2 separate regions of the Homo sapiens genome follow, and region 2 is linked to region 1. Evidence: promoter capture Hi-C in human tissues and cell types (Jung and others, 2019). All regions are on one chromosome and are shown on one strand. Each heading gives the region's core, a stretch centred on a gene start or on the middle of the fragment in contact. The rest is flanking DNA. Distances are from core to core; before and after follow the strand shown.

Region 1 (5,452 bases), core at 1,587-4,086:
AACTGCAGGTACTTTAAGAATTTCCCTTGAGAAACTCTAGCCTTCCAGAACAGGGAGCGCCTTCTCCATGCATTTCCGACAGCACCTGAACTGGAAGCAGCTCAGTACAGCAGCTCCAAAGAGGCTGGGGAGCCAGTCTGCCCAGCTTTGGAGCCTGCTCTGACACTTGATTGTTGTGTGAGTCCAGGCAACTTAACCACTCTCAGCTTAAGTGTCCTCGGAGTAAAACAGAGGTCTACTAGCTCCTTCCCTTCCATCAGGGAAACCGGAAATGAACACCTACTCAAGTCATCAATGGGAGCGCATCACTTCCTATTTCCCTGCCACCTACATTTTGAAAATGCAGGGGGAGAAAAATATAAGGAGGCAGGAGTCACATCTGTAATCCCAGACTTTGGGTGGCCGAAGCGGGAGGAACACTTGAGCCCAGGAGTTCAAGACCAGCCTGAGCAACAACATAGAGAGCCCTATCTCTACAAAAAAAATTTTTTTTTATTATCCGGGCATGGTGACACACACCTGGAGCCCCAGCTACTCGGGAGGCTGAGGCAGGAGGATTGCTTCGGCCCAGGAGTTGGAGGCTGCAGCAAGCTATGAATGTGTCACTGCCCTCCAGCCTGGGTCACAGCTTGCACAAAGCAAGATCCTGTCTCAAAAAAAAAAAAAAAAAGTTCCTTGCCCTGCCTGAAGTTGAGGAGACCATTTGTCTACCTCAAGTTATTATTTGCAGAAACCACACCCATATTCCTTCCTCCTCCACGTGCCCCTCTCCTTAAGAGAAAGGCCGCCAAACAACCAAGAGAAGTTCCTACACCCACTGAGTGTACCACAATCGAAACAAGAGTAAGCGACTCATCCTCTTGGAATCCCCTAGGTCAAGCTTGTCCAACCTGAGGCCCATGGGCTGCCAAATTCGTAAGCTTTCTTAAAACATCAGATTTTTTTTTGCGATTTTTTTTTAGCTCATCAGCTATCATTAGTGTTAGTGTATGATTAGTGTTAGTGTATTTTATGTATGGCCCAAGACAATTCTTCCAGTGTGGCCCAGGGAACCCAAAAAATTGGAGACCCCCACCCTAGGTTGTCCCATAATAAAAGGCAATATCAACATGTGGGAAAGATGAGGCGGCAGAGGTCAAGAAACAGAAGATCTAATAATCATCCAAGTGAGATTGAAGCCCTTCAAAGGTTCAGGCTTATGTAGTTAGCAGACGGAATTCCCCCACACACACCCGCCACTCCCCCAAGACGGAGTCTCACTCTGTCACCCAGGCTGGAGTACAGTGGGGCGATCTCAGCTCACTGCAACCTCCGCCTACTGGGTTCAAGCAATTCCCCTGCCTCAGCCTCCTGAGTAGCTGGGATTACAGGCGTGCTCCACCACACCCGGCTAATTTTTGTATTTTTAGTAGAGACGGGGTTTCACCATGTCAGCCAGGCTGGTCTCGAACTCCTGACCTCGTGATCCACCCACCTCTGCCTCCCAAAGTGCAGGGATACAGGCGTGAGCCACCGCGCCAGGCCAAGATGGAAATTTTAGTTACTACTGTCACCCGAGTCTTTCTCCGTTTGTTTCCTTGCACAAAATGGGTAGGGCTGTGGGCCCTCCCAGCTCAGGAGCCCTGGGGTGGTTTTAAGAAGGTAGAACTCCTGGTAGGAACCACCTGCATCAAGACCATGGATCACCTCTCTGAAGGTTAGCGATTCCAGGGACCCCACCTCCGAGCTGTCCTCCTACGTGGAAGTGAAAGTATTGGAAACAGGGGAAAGAAGCTGGTCAAAGACAGACTCCAGTCGTGGCGGTGCATGTCCCAGTTAAAAGCAAATCCTGGAAAATCTTGTTCAAGAACAGGGTCCCCATTCATAAATGAAAAATAATAATAGTGTTATTTTACCCACATGAAACTTGCCATAACTAGGTACCACGACCCACATGGACACACAGTGAGATTCCCACAAAGAGGCAAAAGGAGAGCCCTGGTCACTGAGACAAAAGATACAGAGACACCGGGACACAGAGAGGTACAACGGGACGTGGAGTTGGATCGAGCTGTCTCGTAAGGAATATCGGAAGGGGTGGGGACACTACTGGGAGATGGCATAGGTCCAGGACACTAATTAGGCTTTGGCTGAGATCAGATAAAGGAAACTGTTCGTAAGCTGCTTACTTAAAAAGAAAGGAAAAGGTGCGTTTGAGTTCAGGAGACTGCGAGTCCCAGAGCAGGAGGCGGGAGCCAGCGAAGGGTGGGCGTGTAAGGGGTGCAGTCGCTTCTCCCGCTGGGCAAGAGACTCCCCCTTTCGGCAGCCTGGGTTCCCCGCCTCCCCACCTCCTGCTCCTCCTCCCCCGAGCCCTAAGGGCCCGCAGGGCCTCCAGTAGCAAAGCCACTGGCCCCGCGTCCCCGCGTCCCCCTGCGCCGCGCCCCGGGGCGCAGGCAGGGACCACGCGGCCGGCGTGGGGGCGGCGCCACCCGCAGCAGAAAGCCCCGGCGTGGACCGCGTGGCGTAGGAAAGCGCTCCCCTCGCCCCCAGCCGCAGAGGGCTTGGGCAGCATCGGGCGCGGCCCCGGGAGAGTGCGTCCGCGGCGCCAGCGGCTGCAGGGTGACCTGTTTCGGGCGGGGACACTCACCAGAAGAACACGCGTGAGCAGAGGTTCGCGTCCTGCAGCGGGTTGGGCTTCACCTCCTGGTACACGGGCAGCATCTTGCCGGGCGGGGCGGGCGCGGGCCGGGGTCGCGCTGATCAGGCGGCGGTGGCCGCGGGCTCCGCTCCTGGACCTCAAGCAGGGATGCTGGGGCTCCGGCCGCCACGCCTGTCCGCTCGGCTGGAGCCTGTGAAGCAGCCGCTTCCGGGAGCCGGGCGCCGGCGGCACGCCCCGTCCCCGCCTCTCAGGCCCGCCGCCTCGGGGGCGCCCGCTACGCGCCGCCGCCTGGAGCCCGGGAGCTGCGCACCGCGTGCGAGCGCGGCCGGGACCGACGGGTGACGCGGCGGGAGGAGACGCGGCGGGAGGAGGCGAAGCTGGCGACGCCAAAGGGAGCCCAGAGCTACGCCCAGGGGTGAGGCGAGGGCCGCCTGCGCCGCTGGATGGAGAGGGTAGCAGAGCGCGCGGCAAGGAGGCCGGGTCCGGAGGTGCCCACGTGCACGAACCCGAGTGAAACTTTCCGAAATTCACTATCCGAGTCTAGGCGCCGACACAGAAGGTGGAGCAGGGAGGCGTCGGCTGTGCCCGCCCCTGCGCCGCAGAAACGCCCCCTCGGCTACGGGTTTGGGAAGACTGGGAGACAGCTGCCTCGTGCTCTAGCAGCCCGCCCCCTGGGCGCCTTTCCCTTCTCAGGACCAAACGACGGTGCCATGGGAGGCTCTTCAACCTGTGAGCCAAACATTTGACCTTGGACGACAGCAAAGTTTAGCCACAGATTATCCTTGTAGAGCTGCAAGACCTCAAGAAAGCCGGGTAACTCGAGAGTATGACCCAGATGAATTCGGGAGATGGATGAATGCTGTCGTCGATGGGGGCGGGCTTTAGGCATCTCACATGTTGCATGCTACGGTGGACCTCTGAGCTTTTTGCTGCCCCCTTAGATTGGGAAAGGAATATAAGAGGAAAGAGAGACTGCCTGATGATTTCTGTCGTCAAGCCCTAAAGCCTAACAGATAACAGTGGCAAACGACACGTGGGTTCCAGAATACCAGTGATGTTCATGTGCATTTCTGAGTGCGTAGCCTCACTAGTGTGTGTGTGTGTGTGTGTGTGTGGCAGTCTCACACACAGTGTCACGATTATGGCTCATTGCACCCTCGACCTCCCAGGGCTCAAGCAATCCTCCCAACTCAGTTTAAGTAGCTAGGACTACAGGCACCCGCCACCACACCCGGCTCATATTTTGTAATTTTTGTAGAGATGCAAAAATCAAAATCAAAGGCTCCAAGTTCAAATACTGATAATTTTTGAAGCCAAATGATTGTCATGGAGGTTTATTTTCTTCATATTTCATGCATGTTTGAGAATTTGGTTTTCTTTGTAATAAGATCATTTTATTGTTCCTTGATAATTTCTCACTTTGTTGCCCAGGCTGGTCTCAAACTCCTAGGCTCAAGTGATCCTCCCACCGTGGCCTCCCAAAGTGCTAGGATTACAGGCATGTACCACCACGCCCGACCAATTATCTCACTTTTAATTCTATCAGTGCCCCATTCAAGGTTATCCTTACTTTATAGATGAGGAAGGTGAAGCTGAAAGGCAGAACTTGTCCAGTCTTAGAGCCAAGAAAGGATAAAACATGATTTGCAATAAGCCTATGTCTAAGCATGGCCTGTCTCCCTGGTGGATGGCCAGTGTGCATGAGAAGTGCCCAGAATATGCTGGTTGAATGGCTGTAGGAATGAATGAACAAAATCTTGTTCCAAGCTTGTGTACTCCCACCTCTAAGTCTTCAGTCATTTCTGTGGCTACCTTAACAAGGTCAGCAGCTGCTCTTCATATCCACCCTGAATGAAAAAAAATGAAAGGCTCCAAGTTCATGGTGCTTGGAACAAGATCATTTTATTGTTCCTTGATAATTTCCCATGTATATTTGCTAAAATAGTATAGTTAATAGCTTTTAAAGAAAGCCTTACACAAACACATATTTAAAAGTCAAGCACAGGCTAGCCAGCATAGTGAGGCTCTGTCTCTACCAAAAGTTTTAAAAATTAGCCCAGGTGTGGTGGCGTACCCTTGTAGTCCCAGCTACTCGAGAGGCTGAGACAGGAGGATGGCTTTAGCCCAGGAGTTCCAGGCTACAAGGAGTTAAGAAGGTGCCCACTGGGCTGGGCACAATGGCTCACGCCTATAATCCTAGCACTCTGGGAGGCTGAGGCAGGTGAATCACCTGACGTCAGGAGTTCGAGACCAGCCTGGCCAACATGGTGAAACCCCATCTCTACTAAAAATACAAAAAATTATCTGGGTGTGGTGGTGGATGCCTGTAATCCCAGCTACTCAGGAACCTCAGGCAGAAGAATCACTTGAACCCAGGAGGCGGAGGTTGCAGTGAGCCGAGATCATCCCACTGCACTCCAGCTTGGCAACAAGAGTGAAACTCCGTCTCAAAAAAAAAAAGAAGGTGCCACTGCACTCCAGGCTGTACAAGCCCATAATCCCAGCACTTTGAGAGGTGGAGACAGGAGGATTGCTTTAGCCCGGGAGTTCTAGACCAGCCTGGGCAACATAGGGAGACCTCATCTCCACTAAAAATGTGAAAATTAGATGGGCATGGTGGAGTAAGTCTGTAGTCCCATGTAACCTGGAGGCTCAGGTGGGAGGATTGCTTGAGCCCAGGAGTTCTAGACCAGCCTGGGCAACAAAGGGAGACCTCATCTCTACTAAAAATGTAAAAATATGATGGGTGTGGTGGCGTGAGTCTGTAGTCCCAGCTGGAGGTTCAGGTGGGAGGATTGCTTAAGCCCAGGAGTT
Region 2 (5,452 bases), core at 885-3,384, 160 kb after region 1:
GAGGCTGAGGCAGGAGGATTGCTTAAGGCCAGGAGTTCAAGACCAGCTTGGGCAACATAATAAGACGCCTGTCTCCACAAAAAATTAAAAAAAAAATTAGCTGGTCATGATGGAGCACAGCTTAGTCTCAGTTACTTAAGAGGTTGAGATGGGAGGATTGCTTGAGCCTAGGAATTCAAGGCTGCAGTGAACTGTCATCATGCCACTACACTCCAGCTTGTGCTACAGAGGGAGACCCTGCACAAAACGAAACAAAACAAAATGAAACAAAAACAAAATGAAAACATTCATTAGGCATCTCCTATGCATAAGGCATTTTGCTTTGTTTGTAAAGACAGATCACAAAAAAGCAAGTTATTTTGTCTATTCTCCAAGGGAGATTTAAATTTGCAGGCAGGATTGAAGCAGAATGAGAAATAGGAAAAAGATGGAGCTGATATGTACAAATATGTAAGACAGATGGAGTCTCTGCCAGGCTGTAAATAGCATAGGTCCTAAACCAAACTCATCATGTTCCTCTGCAAAAGCACTTCCTCCCACAGCCTTCCTGTTGCGTCTCGGTCCCGCAAGTGTTCCTGTGATCCAGAAGCATTTTATTGCACCCATCTTCTGGTCACCTCTGTTGTTGTGTATGCATTTGCTTGTTTCTTTAGCAGGACTATGTCTTAACCCTGGCATATGGAGGCAGATCCAATTCCTAGTCCATCCACATCTCTGGAGATTATTCCAGTTTTCAGCATTAATAAGTTACTAAAAAAAAATTGTTGAGTTAAATTATGTTCTTACCATTGCACAAGCTTACAAAATCTGCTTCAGATCAAACAGCCATCTTCTACATTGCAGAGTTTGTTTCGTATGCAAATGGATCCTCTTTCGTTGAGAAGCCAGGTGTGTAGAAACTCAGGGAGGACCAAAGCAAGGTGCTGGGGCTCTGTGTTCTGTGCAGTCTTGGGAACTGACAGAGCAGTTGTGGTTATCTGTTTGACCTTGTACTTGGTGAATCACATACTGATGTAGGGGGATTCCCTGTTGCTACCACTATTTGTTCCATTCTCTAGTTTCCTACTCGAGTTTCAGATACTCTGCAACTAGAAATGACCTTAGTTCTTCCCAGTTATCAGATATTATTTTCTGACCCTCAGTTTCGCTGGGGATGCCACTAGCCTGGCATATGAATGGTTTTCAAATAAGAATCTCTTCCAAACAGAAGAGGCAGCCTGGGTATATAGTGATGGTTTCTGCCCTTTTTCTAGGGTGTACTCTCTTGAAGACCCTCTAGGAAGCCAAAACTGCACTGGGCATATCTGCAGCAATCTCTGTCATCTCATTAGGGTATGTTGAAAATAAGTCAACCTGTGAGTTAGCTATTGTCAGAAAATTGCTATGTAACCAACAACCACAGATCCTCATGGTCAACAACAATAATGAACATTCATTTCTTGTACCTGTGAAGTTCAGCTAATCTAGGCTGGACTTTGCTGATCTCAACTGGACTCAACTTATGCACCTGGGGTCTAATGGGGGTTGGCTGACCTTAGATGAGGTTGGCTGGGGTGACTTGGTTCTGCTCTACCTGTCTACCTCCTAGAACAGTAGGCTTGCCTGAGCATATACTTTTCATGGCAAAAACACAGCAAAACAAGCTCAATTACATGAGTGGTTGTGTAGACCTCTGATTGTATCATGTCTATGACATCCCATTGGTCAAAGCAAGTCATATGGCCAAACACAGAGTCAAGAGGTAGAGAAATAGCCTCCGTGTTTTTGTTGTTCTTGTTGTTTTGTTTTTTGAGACAAAGTGTTGCTCTGTGACCCAGGCTGGAGTGCAGTGGTGATCATGGCTGTATTAGTTCATTTTCACATTGCTATAAGGAAATACTTGAGACTGGGTAATTTATAAAGGAAAGAGGTTTAATCAACTCATGCTTCTGCATGGCTGGAAAGGCCTCAGGAAACTTACAGTCATGGTGGAAGGTGAAGGGGAAGCAAGCCACCTTCTTCACAGGCAGCAGGAAGGAGAAGTGATGAGTGAAGGGGGAAGAACCTCTTATAAAACTATCAGATCTTGTGAAAACTCACTATTACCAGAAGAGCATGGGGGAAACTGCTCCCATGATTCAATTACCTCCACCTGGTCTCTCCCTTGACACACAGGGATTATGGGGATTATGGGGATCACAATTCAAGATGAGATTTTGGGTGGGGACACAGCCAAACCACATCATTCTGCCCCAGCCCCTCCCAAATCTCATGTCCTCACATTTCAAAACATAATCATGCCTTTCCAATTGTCCCCCAAATTCTTAACTCATTCCAGTATTAACCCAAAAGTCCAAATCCAAAGTCTCATCTGAAACAAGTCAAGTACCTTCCACCTATGAGCCTGTAAAATCAAAAGCAAGTTAGTTACTTCTGAGATGCAATGGGAGTACAGCACTGGGTAAATACACCTGTTACAAATGGGAGAAATTGGCCAAAACAAAGGGGCTACAGACCCCATGCAAGTCCAAATTCAGTGGGGCAGTCATTAAATCTTAGAGCTCCAAAATATCTCCTTTGACGCCATGTCCTACATCCAGGTCACACTGATGCAAGAGGTGGTCTCCCATGGCCTTGGACAGCTCTGTTCCTGTGGCATTGCAGGGTACAACCCCACTCCTGGCTGCTTTCACAGGCTGGCGTTGAGTGTCTGCAACTTTTCCAGGTGCATGGTGTAAGCCGTCAGTAGATCTACCATTATGGGGTCTGGAGGACAGTGGCCCTCTTCTCACAGCTCCACTAGGCTATGCCCTAGTAGGGACTCTGTGTGGGGGCTCTGACCCCACCTTTCCCTTCCACACTACCCTACCAGAGGTTCTCCATGAGGGCTCCACCCCTGCCACAAACTTCTTCCTGGACATCTGGGCATTTCCATACATCCTCTGAAATCTAGGCAGAGGTTCTCAAACCTCAATTATTAACTTCTGTGCACCTGAAGGCCCAACACAATGTGTAAACTGCCAAGGCTTGGGACTTGCACCCTCTGAAACAATGGTCTGCGCTGTACATTGGCCCATTTTAGCCATGGCTAGGATGCAGGGCACCAAGTCCTGAGACTGGACAAAGTAGCAAGACCCTGGATCTGGCCCATGAAACCAGTTTTTCCTCCTAGGCCTCCAGGCCTGTGATGGAAGGGGCAGCCATGAAGACCTCTGACATGCCCTGGAGACATCTTCTCCATTGTCTTGGTGACTAACATTTGGTTCCTCATTACTTATGCAAATTTTTCCAGCCTGCTTGAATTTCTCCCCAGAAAATGGGGTTTTCTTTTATATTGCATTGTCAGGCTGCAAATTTTCTAAACTTTATGCTCTGCTTCCCATTTAAATATAAGTTACAATTCCAAATCATCTCTTTGTGAATGCATACAACTGAATGCTTTCAAGAGCACCCAAGTTACCTCTTGAACACTTTGCTTCTTAGAAATTTCTTCTGCCAGATACCCTAAATCATCTCTCTCAAGTTCAAATTTCCACAGATCTCTAGGGCAGGGGCAAAGTGCTTCCAGTCTCTTTGCTAAAGCACAGCAAGAGTCACCTTTATTCCAGTTCCCAAAAAGATCCTCATCTCCATCTGAGACCACCTCAGCCTGGACTTCATTGTCAATATCACTATCAGTATTTTGGTCAAAGTCATTCAACAAGTCTCTAGAAACTTTCAAACTTTTCCACATCTTCCTGTCTTCTTTTGAACCTTCCAAACTCTTCCAACCTCTGCCTGTTACCCAGTTCCAAAGTTGCTTCCACATTTACAGGTATCTTTATAGCAGCAACATACTCTCTGTGGTACCAATTGACTGTATTAGTCCATTCTCACATTGCTATAAGGAAATACCTGAGACTGGGTAATTTATAAAGGGAAGATGTTTAATTGACTCATGGTTCCTGTGGCTGGGAAGGCCTCAGCAAACTTACAATCATGGTAGAAGGCGAAAAAGCCACCTTCTTCACATGGCAAAAAGGAAAGAGCCCCTTATAAAACCATTAGATCTCATGAAAACTCACTCAATGCCACAAGAACAGCGTGGGGAAAACCACCCCCATGATTCAATTATCTCTACCTGATCTTTGCCGTGACATGTGAAGATTTTACGAGGATTATGGGGATTACAATTCAAGATGAGATATTGGGTGAGGACACAGCCAAACCATATCAATGGCTCACTGCAGCCTCAACCTCCTGGGTTCAAGCAATCCTCCCACCTGAGCCTCTCTCCTCTGGAGTAGCTGTGATTACAGGCACATACCACCGCACTCAGCTAAAATTTTAATTTTTAGCTGGGTGCGGTGGCTCACACCTGTAATCTCAGCATTTTGGGAGGCTGAGGCCGGCGGATTGCCTGAGGTCAGGGGTTCAAAACCAGTCTGGCCAACATGGTGAAACCCCATCTCTACTAAAAATACAAAAAAGTTAGCTGGATGTGGGTGGTGCACACCTGTAATCCCAGCTACTCCAGAGGCTGAGGCAGGGGAATTGCTTGAATCAGGGAGGTGGAGGTTGCAGTGAGCCGAGATCAGCTCACTGCACTCCAGCCTGGGTGACACAGCGAGACTCTGTCTCAAAAGAAGAAAAAATTATTTTTTAGAGACACAGTCTCCCTATGTTGCCCAGGCCGGTCTCAAACTCCAAAGCAATCCTCCCACCTCAGCCTCCTAAAGTGCTGGGATTACAGATGTGAGCCACCATGCCCAGCCTTGCATTCTGTGTTCTTAAATAATAGTGTGACCTTGAGTGGAGCTCAGCTAGAACACTCTAGTACTTCTACTCCACCCCATTCTATTGCTCTTTGATTTCTATCCCTCATAATGGAGTCATTCAGGAGAGGAAAGAACAGATACTTCTTGAGGCCTTTATTTATGCTAAAAGTCACTTTACCTTTTTCCTTTGCCTTTGATTCCTGTTCACTCCTGTCCTCAAGTTATTTGACTTTTTTTGTTCTATGGTGGTGTCTCCAGCATCCTACTTTAGAGAAAGAAGTTATTGGTCTTTCCCCTGTCCTATACCAGACCCCATTTTCATTAGCATGACTGTTTTCCTGACCTCGTCATGATTTGTGAATCCCAGAGTTCCCTTGGAGAACTGAATTATTCCAGGAAAACAACTTTGAGATAAAACAACTTCAGCTTCCTCAACCAAATTCCTGATGACAGTTCTGCTTTATAAATCAAAGCTACCACTTGATCCCACAAGTGCAAATGCTTTACCTGTGCACTTCTGTGAGACACAGAACAGCAGAACTTGTTCTTAATGAAACACTTGATCATGCACAGTGGCTCATGCCTGTAATCCTAATACTTTGGGAGGCCAATGCAGGAAGATCACTTGAGGCTAGGAGTTCAAGACCAACCTGGGCAACATAGCAAGACCCCATGTCTACAAAAAGTAAAAAAAAAAAATTAGCCAAGCACAATGG

What was found. Contacts are between HindIII fragments. The study calls those that stand out against the background at their distance.
Region 2: a fragment that was not itself captured here is called in contact with the fragment with the promoter of ABCC4 in region 1 in 1 of the 25 tissues and cell types used here (H1 embryonic stem cells).

Annotation. Positions count from the first base shown.
Region 1 is chr13:95,298,615-95,304,066 of GRCh38, forward strand. It overlaps ABCC4 (ATP binding cassette subfamily C member 4 (PEL blood group)), which reads right to left and starts at 2,837. Exons shown (of 31, transcript NM_005845.5): 1 at 2,627-2,837. The coding sequence starts at 2,700. LOC102724149 (a long non-coding RNA gene) reads left to right here and starts at 2,337. Exons shown (of 3, transcript XR_429273.4): 1 at 2,337-2,649; 2 at 3,332-3,712. RefSeq lists enhancers at 1,120-1,179, 2,782-3,556 and silencers at 2,373-3,012, 3,043-3,102, 3,283-3,342. The HindIII fragment of the contact is 21,021 bases long and covers 1-5,452 here.
Region 2 is chr13:95,456,513-95,461,964 of GRCh38, forward strand. It overlaps a transcript of CLDN10 not described here. Among named protein-coding and RNA genes, the nearest start is that of CLDN10-AS1, 75 kb to the right of the region's middle. RefSeq lists an enhancer at 1,119-1,178. The HindIII fragment of the contact is 9,460 bases long and covers 1-5,452 here.